Regions from separate parts of the Homo sapiens genome. Here all the other regions are linked to region 3. The links are contacts of gene promoters, found by promoter capture Hi-C in blood cells and fetal thymus (Javierre and others, 2016). All regions are on one chromosome and are shown on one strand. The core of a region is centred on a gene start or on the middle of the fragment in contact, and the rest is flanking DNA. Distances in the headings are between cores, read along the strand shown. Region 1 has its middle 28 kb from the start of EXOC2. Region 2 overlaps EXOC2 (exocyst complex component 2). Region 3 holds the start of IRF4 (interferon regulatory factor 4).

Region 1 (2,910 bases), core at 63-2,562, 330 kb after region 3:
CGAACTCCTGACCTCAGGTGATCCACCCACCTCGGCCTCCCAAAGTGCTGGGATTACAGGCGTGAGTCACCGCGCCTGGCCCACTAATGCTTCTTAACCTGTCCCTTCCTTTATGGACTTAATTGCGTCTTCCCAACATTCACATGTTGAAGTATGTGACTGTATGTGGAGATGGGACCTATAAGGAGATAACCAAGGTTAAATGAGATTGGAAGGGTAGGGCCTTGATCCAACAGGACTGATGTCCTTATAAGAAGAGAGAGAGGCATGAGGGCCATGGGAGGACACAGCAAGGGGCGCCATCTGCAAGACAAGGAGAGGTCTCAGAAGAAACCAGGCATGCCGATCTTGATCTCGATCACTGACTTGCGGCCTCTGAAACTCAAAAACGTGTTGTTTAAGCCAACCTGTCTCTGGTACTTTGTCACAGCAGCTGGAGCTGACTAATACACTTAACCTCACATACCTATTTGAATGATGTTCTTTAATCTCTTTAATCATGGTATCTCTTTAATCTCTTCCCTCTCCAGCAACCCCACTGTCGGTGCCCTCATTCAGGCACTCACTACCTTCTTCCTGCACCATTAGAAAAGTCTTCATATTGGTTTCATGTCTGCCCTAATCAACCCATTCCCTACACTCTTTCCAAGTCATCTGTCTTAGGACCAGAGCCAGGAATAGGATTAATTGGAGTCAGAGCTTCCCTTTAGGGCACTTCACCTGTTGGAGAACTGGAGAAAATATGAAGAGGATGCTCACTACGGGTGCAGGTTCCTAAGCACCACAGGAGTGTTGAAAGACAGAAACAAGCTGTAAACCCAGAGACACGCTGGGAAGAGGGAGCCCCAGCAGCCACTGCAGTGAGCTGGCCACTTGGCCACGCACAAGAAGTGGAATTTATTCATTCATTGATTTGCTCAATCATGTTGAATGAGCACAAATATATCTCTGACTTTGTTGAGCTTCTATCCTGGTGAGTGGAGACACTTAAACATAGGCATAAGTTAATGAGATGATTTAGGATGAAAAGGGGTGCTATGAAGATTCTGAAAGGGGCAGTGGGATGGTGGGAAGGGGTGCTTCTGGTAGCATGGTCAGATAAGTGGACAGAGGAAGTGACGGGACTCCTGGGATATGAAAGATGAGAGGTAGCTGGCCATGCAGGGGAATAACATCCCATGTAGAGGAAACTGCTCTTGCAAAGTAGATAAGATGGGTGGAGCCTACAGGCAGGGTCAGAGGGATTTCAGGTGTTGTGGACTGAGAAGCGCTAGATATAGCATCTTGTTGGCCATGGGAGGTGTGTTTCATCCTAATTAGACTGGTGGCCTCTGGGGGGTTGTGAACTGGGAGATGATAAGATTTTATCTCTATTTTAAGGTGGTCCTAGCTGCTGAGGGTGGAGGTGTTGCTGCTACACTGGGGTGTCAGCAATAGGAATCGGCAGGGGATGGAAGGCTCAGAGTTTCTTTTGGCAGTTAAGCTGCTGGGATTTGCTATTAGGTGGAATATGTTTGTGAGTGAAAGAGGGGCATTAAGTGTCCAGGAGGACGGTGGTGACATGGACTGAGAGAAGCAGGTTTGGGTGTGCCGATTTAGAGTTACAGTTTAGCTTGGGTAAGTTTCCGATGCAGTCATGCGTTACTTAACGATGGGGACACACTCCGAGAAATTCATCATTTACAGGTTTTGTCATTTTGTGAACATCAAAGAGTGAACTTGCACAAACCTGATACAGCACTAGCTTGTCCAACCTGCTGGCTGCAGGCCACTTGTGGCCCAGGATGGCTTTGAATGCAGCCCAACACAAACTTGTAAACTTTCTTAACACATATTTTTTTTCAATTTTTTTTTTTTTAGCTCACCAGCTATCATTAGTGTTAGTGTATTTTATGTGTGACCCAAGACAATCCTTCTTCCAGTGTGGCCCAGGGAAGCCAAAAGATTGGACACTTCTAGTATAGCCTATTGCTCCTAGGCTACAAACCTGCACAGCATGTGCAGTTGTGACACAATGGTGTTTGTGTATCTTAACATGGAAAGGTAGAGTAAAAATATGGTATCTTATTGTCTTATGGGCCCACCATCATAGATGCAGTCTCTCATTGACCAAAATTTTGTTATGTGTCACATGATGTTAGTACTAGATGTTACAGAAAGGGAGATTGGCAAATGCGTTCACAGATACCACTTAGGAAGTAAGAAAAGGGCCCAGATGGAGCGCTGCATTTGGCCAGAGGAACGTAGTTGGTGCTTTTGATAAGAGCCATTTTAGCTGAGCCATGAAGATGAAAACTGCTTTCACCAGAGCATGTTCGAGAGAGAATGTGAGGCCAGAAGGTGGAAAGTTTTGTGGAGAAGAGTAGAGAAGTGGGGGTAGGGAATCTCCAAGGGATGTGGGGTAAAAGAAGGAGTTATTTATGCTGAACTAGAGCAAGCCTTGCTTGTCTGCTGCCGGGAATGAAGCCTTCCAACTGGTGGTGCAGGAGACAGGGCCCGTCAGAAGGAGCTGGGTTCTCCTGCGGCTGGTGAGGTGAGGCACGGAGCACAAGTGATGGTGCTGAAAAAGCTAAAGTTGGGGAATGGAGGTTTTTTCCATTAGAAGAAATTTTTCTCCTAATGATACCAGGAGGATTTTTCCTCCTAATATCACTATATGATACTTTTATCTTTTATGCTGTGAATATTAAATGCCATTTGACTTTAATGGTACTATATAAACACGATGTATAATGCAAGTACTAACATTATAATTGTAATTTTAAAGAATAGTTTAATGAATGTAATGACTATTCAAATATCGTGCTAATAATTTACCATGAAGTAACAACTTTTCACTATGTTTATAGCAGATTAAGAAAAATGTCCCTTTTGGGGAGAATAGCGATAGACCAATTTTTGGATTTGAAA
Region 2 (2,841 bases), core at 161-2,660, 290 kb after region 3:
GATCTGGGGATGCACGGGCTCTTCTTTCATCTCCTCAACAACAGCAGCAGAGACCTCAAAAGGCTGTGTGAAATTCCTGCCATAAGAAGCTATAAGATGCGGCTTCTGAGAGGGGTGTCAGCTAGATTTGTTTCACAGGACAGATGCCATTCCTTGATTCTGTACTGTGTGCCATGCACTGTCTTTTAAACCAATAAATCTGGTCACAAGAGCAACTGCCAAAACCACTATAAAACCTGAGTGCCCTAATTACATCCTAAAAGGTCACAATCAACCTGTGACAGCTCCTCCTGATCTTCAATACAATTCATGCTAAGGAAAACAATCAGATAAATCCAAATTAACCAAACATCTAAGCAGAACAACTCCTTTTCTATCGGTCACCTCTGGGTGACAAGAGGTCCAGTTCAAATCTGACCTTTAACTGAAAGGTCCAAGAGGTGAAAAGTTTGATATTCTATTACTGCTTCCACACAGAATTACACGAAAACCAGAAATTCTAATTTGTAGGTGCAGATCTTTAATGCTGTGTCTCCTTTCTCCCCCCACCAAAGAAGTATTTTAAATGTTTAAACCAAAATGAGTTTTGCCCCTAATAAATTTTAAAATATTACTAAGATATTTATAATGAAAGTTACCAGAGAAACTTGTTTTTCAACTATCCTTTAGTCCTATAAAAACTAGGCCAAAACTCATTTAAGCTTGATTTTTCCATTTAAAAAATCCAGCCATAAAAGAGAATGGGATAGTACTGAGAATATATAAAACAATTCTAACTTTTCAGTTCTAATGAAAAGTGCAAATAAAGGTAGTAATCTTTTTCTTAAAGATAACCTTGTTTTCACAGAAATGCACTTGGAAATAGGGTTTTTAAAGTGCTGTCAAGGTACTGTGGTTCTACAGATACTTTGCTTCTCTGCCCTTGCAAGAGAATCAACTGCTCTGGAGGATAATTCCCCCTTTAGTTACCAGAGAGCAAAACCCTGGTCCTTTTCCTGCTCACTGCTAACTCCTGGAGGATTTTGCCCAGTAAAAGCTAAGGTAGAAATGGAGGGAATCTGTTCAGTCAGGATTTATTCATTTAGAGTTCTACATCGAATTTTAAACAACCAATTAGCACCGGCATTGGTGAAACTCCAGAAGGGCTGGGAACAGGAACCTGCATGACACAGCACTGCAGAAAAGTGCTGGTGACTAACAGCCAGTCACACATAGGGCACTTCTATCCAACACAAGCCTTGACCATTCCGCAGTTCCTATTAAATATTTCCCAGTTTCTTTTTTTTTTTTTTTTTTGAGACGGAGTCTCGCTCTGTCACCCATGCTGGAGTGCAGTGGCAGGATCTGGGGTCACTGCAAGCTCTGCCTTCCGGGTTCATGCCATTCTCCTGCCTCAGCCTCCCGAATAGCTGGGACTACAGGCAACCACTACCACGCCCGGCTAATTTTTTTGTATTTTTAGTAGAGACAGGGTTTCTCTGTGTTAGCCAGGATGGTCTAGATCTCCTGACCTCGTGATCTGCCCGCCTTGGCCTCTCAAAGTGCTGGGATTACAGGTGTGAGCCACCGCGCCCGGCCCCGAGTTTCTAAAATACAAGTTCATTTCCACACATGATTACTTAACTATAACCATCATTTATCAGTATTTTTTCCTCTCTCTCTCTCTCCAAAGAATTTTCACTTCCTAGGTAAAAGTCATACAGTAATGACTAACAATATTATGCATATATTATGTCATAATTGACATAAAAGGCCACATATATGATTCCACTTATATGAAAGTTCAGAATAAGTAAATCCATGGATGCAGAAAGTGGGAAAGGATTGATAATGGATTCAGGGTTTTCTCCGGGTGTGATGAAACTGTTCTGGACTTAGATAATGGTGATGGTTGTACAACTTTGTGAATAACTGTGCTTCAGAATTCCTCTGAGCATTAGTTTAACATCATTAGCACCATAAACACAGAACCCCAAAAAACTGAACACAAAAAGAAATACAGGATGGTATCATTTTTTAAAAAGTGCCCAACATGACTAAATTCCTGAAGTCTGATTCCAGATCAGTTGAGGCAAAGGTACACCAGGGCGAGGAGTGAAAAGGTACCAGGAGGGTAGGAGAAAGCTTTACCCTCGCAGTGATGGAAACAGAGCTCAGGTACTGAAACCCAGGGTGAAGAGTAGCAAATAAAGCAGCAGAACAACTCCAAGCTAAACAGACTGACCTTGCGGGAAGATGTGAGTGGCCTAGACTTTCTAATCCTTGACAAACATCAACACCACCAACTCCATTCCAGCAAGACTGCCAGGAAGACATGAAAATAAAGAAGCTAAACAATGCAAAATCCCAAGTGATATCAAGAGTCTACATATGTTTATTCAAATAACAAAATACTTGACCATCTCAACAATAATGTTCAGGAATGAGAGAGGAACAAAATCAAGAAAATATTACTAAGCTATTCATAATGAAAGGATTGGATAAAAAGATATTCTCCTAAATTTATACTACTACATAAAAACAAAGTTTCATTTGTCTCGACTTGTCAAATCTTTAGGATGAAATAAACCAATATCACCGCTGACAAATATAATAACTATGGTAAACAGGCATGCCAAAATCAATGCAGAGTTTCAGAAAAGGTCAAGAAACCAACCGTCAGCTTAAATTGGTTAATTTCATTAAAACTGTTAAACATGACAGGATGTCGCTAACTCCCAGGTTCTTTTATATGAGCAAAGTTGGATTAATTTGACCCAAATTTTGTATAATAGCTTTTCCAATTTCCAAAAATACATCAACTTTGTCACTGATCTTACAAATTCTGCTTTCCTTCTCTAG
Region 3 (3,077 bases), core at 548-3,047:
TGAACGTTTGAGGGAAAGGTAACACTGATTAAAATATAATGCAACAAGAAGGCAACGATCTTTGCTTTGTTCACTGATGTGTTCCAAGTGCCTAGGACGGTTCCTGACAAGTAGCAGGTGCTCAAAATACATTTGTCAAGTGAATAAATCTGTGAAAGGAAAGGAAGAAAAACAGGTTGTGACCAGAACTTTTTGTGAACAAAACCCTGTTGTTTATTACATAGACTTTGGTAATGGAAAACTTACTTGGGTGAAATAAAAAATGGCATCCTGTTAATTTCTGAGAACGTCTGTTGGTTTTAGGAAAAGCATACCTATCCATACCTCACTACCTGTTTTGCTCTAGCCTAAACATAGATTCTTCTTTGGTTAGGAGACATTGACCCAATATATAAGATTAAAACAAAAACTGAGAAATAAGTGAAATCAAAAGCTTTTCAAAAGTTGCAGGTTGACCTACGGTGGTGGTGGTCTAAAATCATATAGAAACCAGAGATCTGATGGTTTACCTGAAAATGCGAAGTAAATGCACATACTCAGCATCTCAGACGATCGAAAGCTCAACGGGTGAAAGCTCAGGGGGTTAATTTTGCGATTAAGGACATCTTGGAAAAGTATGTAAAATCCCTGGTCCACTTAAGTATTATTCCTATTTTGGGCTTTTATTTATTTATTTTGAGATGGAGTCTTGCTCTGTCGCCCACCTCGGCTCACTGCAACTTCAGCCTCCCGGGTTCAAGCGATTCTCGTGGCTCGTCCTCTCAAGTAGCTGGGGCCACGCCCGGCTAATTTTTGTATTTTTAGTAGAGATGGGGTTTCACCGTGTTGGCCAGGCTGGTCTCGAACTCCTGACCTCAGGCGATCCACCGCCTCGGCCTCCCAAAGTGCTGGGATTACAGGCTTGAGCCACAGCGCCTGGCCTATTTTGGGCTTTTATACCCCACTGGTAAACTGCTTTCCTCCAGGTTGAGGTTAAAACGACATCATTTTAAGGTGAACTGAAGTCTGGAAGTGATTAAGCACTTGGATCCTTAGGGAGCCTCTCCCCGCCCCCATCTCTTTCATGCTAAGATAATTAAAACTTCGGGGCCGGGGCATTGTCTGAGTCACTTCAATTCACCAGCCTAATAGATGCAAAAGGATGTAAGCATGTCAGACACGCAGAGACAGTATTTGAATCAAGCTTAATAGCTCAAGGGAGCTGGGCCATTTCCTATTTTCTTTTTAGTGAGTGCGATGTTCTCTAAACACCGCGGAGAGGCAGGGTTCCCGGTGATGGCCTTGCCGAGGGTGCTCCCGCAACCTCCACCTCCAGTTCTCTTTGGACCATTCCTCCGTCTTCCGTTACACGCTCTGCAAAGCGAAGTCCCCTTCGCACCAGATTCCCGCTACTACACGCCCCCCATTTCCCGCCCTGGCCACATCGCTGCAGTTTAGTGATTGACTGGCCTCCTGAGGTCCTGGCGCAAAGGCGAGATTCGCATTTCGCACCTCGCCCTTCGCGGGAAACGGCCCCAGTGACAGTCCCCGAAGCGGCGCGCGCCCGGCTGGAGGTGCGCTCTCCGGGCGCGGCGCGCGGAGGGTCGCCAAGGGCGCGGGAACCCCACCCCGGCCGCGGCAGCCCCCAGCCTTCACGCCGGCCCTGAGGCTCGCCCGCCCGGCCGGCCCCGGCTCTCGGCTTGCAAAGTCCCTCTCCCCAGTCCAACCCCCGGCCCCCACAGGCCTCGGCGCCCCGCCCCGCCCCAGGCCCCGCCCCAGAGAGTTCTATAAAGTTCCTCTTTCCCACCTCGCACTCTCAGTTTCACCGCTCGATCTTGGGACCCACCGCTGCCCTCAGCTCCGAGTCCAGGGCGAGGTAAGGGCTGGAGTCGGGCAGGAGGAGGGGTGTGAGGCTGATACCAGAGAGGACCCGGAGCGCGAACCAGAGGTTCGACCTCCAGGGCAGCGCAGGGTACCCCGGCTTCGGAGCGGGAAGGGAGCGCGCCCCGTCCTGGAGCTCCGACTCCCACCCCATCTGCGCTGAGCCGGAGGCGCTGGTTTGGGCTCCAAGGCCCGCCTCCTTGGCTCTGCCCGAGCCTCCCCGCCTGCCCTCCGCGCTCCTGCGACGGGGTCGCCACAAGCTGGACGGGATGAGCTAACCGGACTGTCGGGGCCCCAGGAGTGGCTGAGGCGGGGCCGTCCAAGGCACCCACACAAGACGGCACAACTGCCTGCGAGAAACAGGCCCGGCCCTGTGGACCCCAATCCGAGGCTCCTTCCCCTGCTCTTCGTTCCTAAGGGGCCCAAGCTCACGGCGGCCTCCGGCGCGGTGCTCACCCGCTGGCGCAGGAGGAGGAGGAGCTCCACATTTGGGTCGCTCCGAGCCTTGCGTGCGGTGGCCTAGCCGGCCTGGCGCGGTCCCTGCCTCCCAGGCTCCGCAGCTGTCGTCGCCCTCTCCCGCGCCCTCCCCGCCTCCGCTCTCCCGGGCCTGCTCCGGGGTCCGGCGGACGCTCTGCGCGCGGAATCCCCCGTACTGGGGCTGCAGCCCCCGCGTCTGCGCCACTTGTCGTTTGCAGAGCCCACTTAGTGCGCGCTAGCTGGGCAGGGATAGGGGTCCTATTCGGGGCGAAGGGTCTGGATGCGAGCAGAGAAAGCGGAGGGTGGAGGAACCCGGGGCTGCGCCCCTGGAACGCCCGGCCGCAGGCGAGGTCCTCCGCGCGTGGAGGCCGCCAGGGGAGTGGAAACTGACAGAGTCGCGGGGAAGGGGCGAGAAGCGGGTTGGGAGTGAGCGAAGGCAAGCGAGAGCTGCGAGTGAGTGCGGAAGGAGGGCCAGGAGGGGTGGCGGCTGGGTGGGGAGAGAGGGTGCAAGACGAGCGGCGCGTGTCGGGAGCCTTTGGGCTGCGGGTGCGTTACAGGAGAGCAGGCGGGTAGGAGCCTTCGCGGGGGCCGAGCTCGGAAGGCGGACGGCTGTGCCCGCCCAGGGGATGCGCCCGGGCCGGCCGCGAAGGTGCCTTCTTCCGGGGGCCCGGACGACCCTGACACGGCACGCGCGCGCTTCGCAGCCTCAAAGACTCCGGGGCCTCGTGGTCACTGGCGCA

Evidence for each region. The method cuts DNA at HindIII sites, captures the fragments that hold promoters and counts their contacts. A CHiCAGO score of 5 or more calls a contact.
Region 1: a contact is called between a fragment that was not itself captured here and the fragment with the promoter of IRF4 in region 3, in 1 of 17 cell types (activated CD4 T cells). The highest score is 5.4, in activated CD4 T cells.
Region 2: a fragment that was not itself captured here is called in contact with the fragment with the promoter of IRF4 in region 3 in 2 of 17 cell types (activated CD4 T cells and non-activated CD4 T cells); the score reaches 10.7 in activated CD4 T cells.

The regions. Positions count from the first base shown.
Region 1 is chr6:719,196-722,105 of GRCh38, forward strand. No RefSeq gene overlaps it. Among named protein-coding and RNA genes, the nearest start is that of EXOC2, 28 kb to the left of the region's middle. RefSeq lists a silencer at 2,908-2,910. The HindIII fragment of the contact is 3,832 bases long and covers 1-2,910 here.
Region 2 is chr6:680,922-683,762 of GRCh38, forward strand. All of the region lies in intron 1 of EXOC2 (exocyst complex component 2), which reads right to left. Among named protein-coding and RNA genes, the nearest start is that of EXOC2, 11 kb to the right of the region's middle. The HindIII fragment of the contact is 1,423 bases long and covers 700-2,122 here.
Region 3 is chr6:389,955-393,031 of GRCh38, forward strand. IRF4 (interferon regulatory factor 4) reads left to right here and starts at 1,798. Exons shown (of 9, transcript NM_002460.4): 1 at 1,798-1,855. RefSeq lists silencers at 1,485-1,874, 2,115-2,184, 2,465-2,514, 2,685-2,734, 2,845-2,954. The HindIII fragment of the contact is 5,232 bases long and covers 1,182-3,077 here.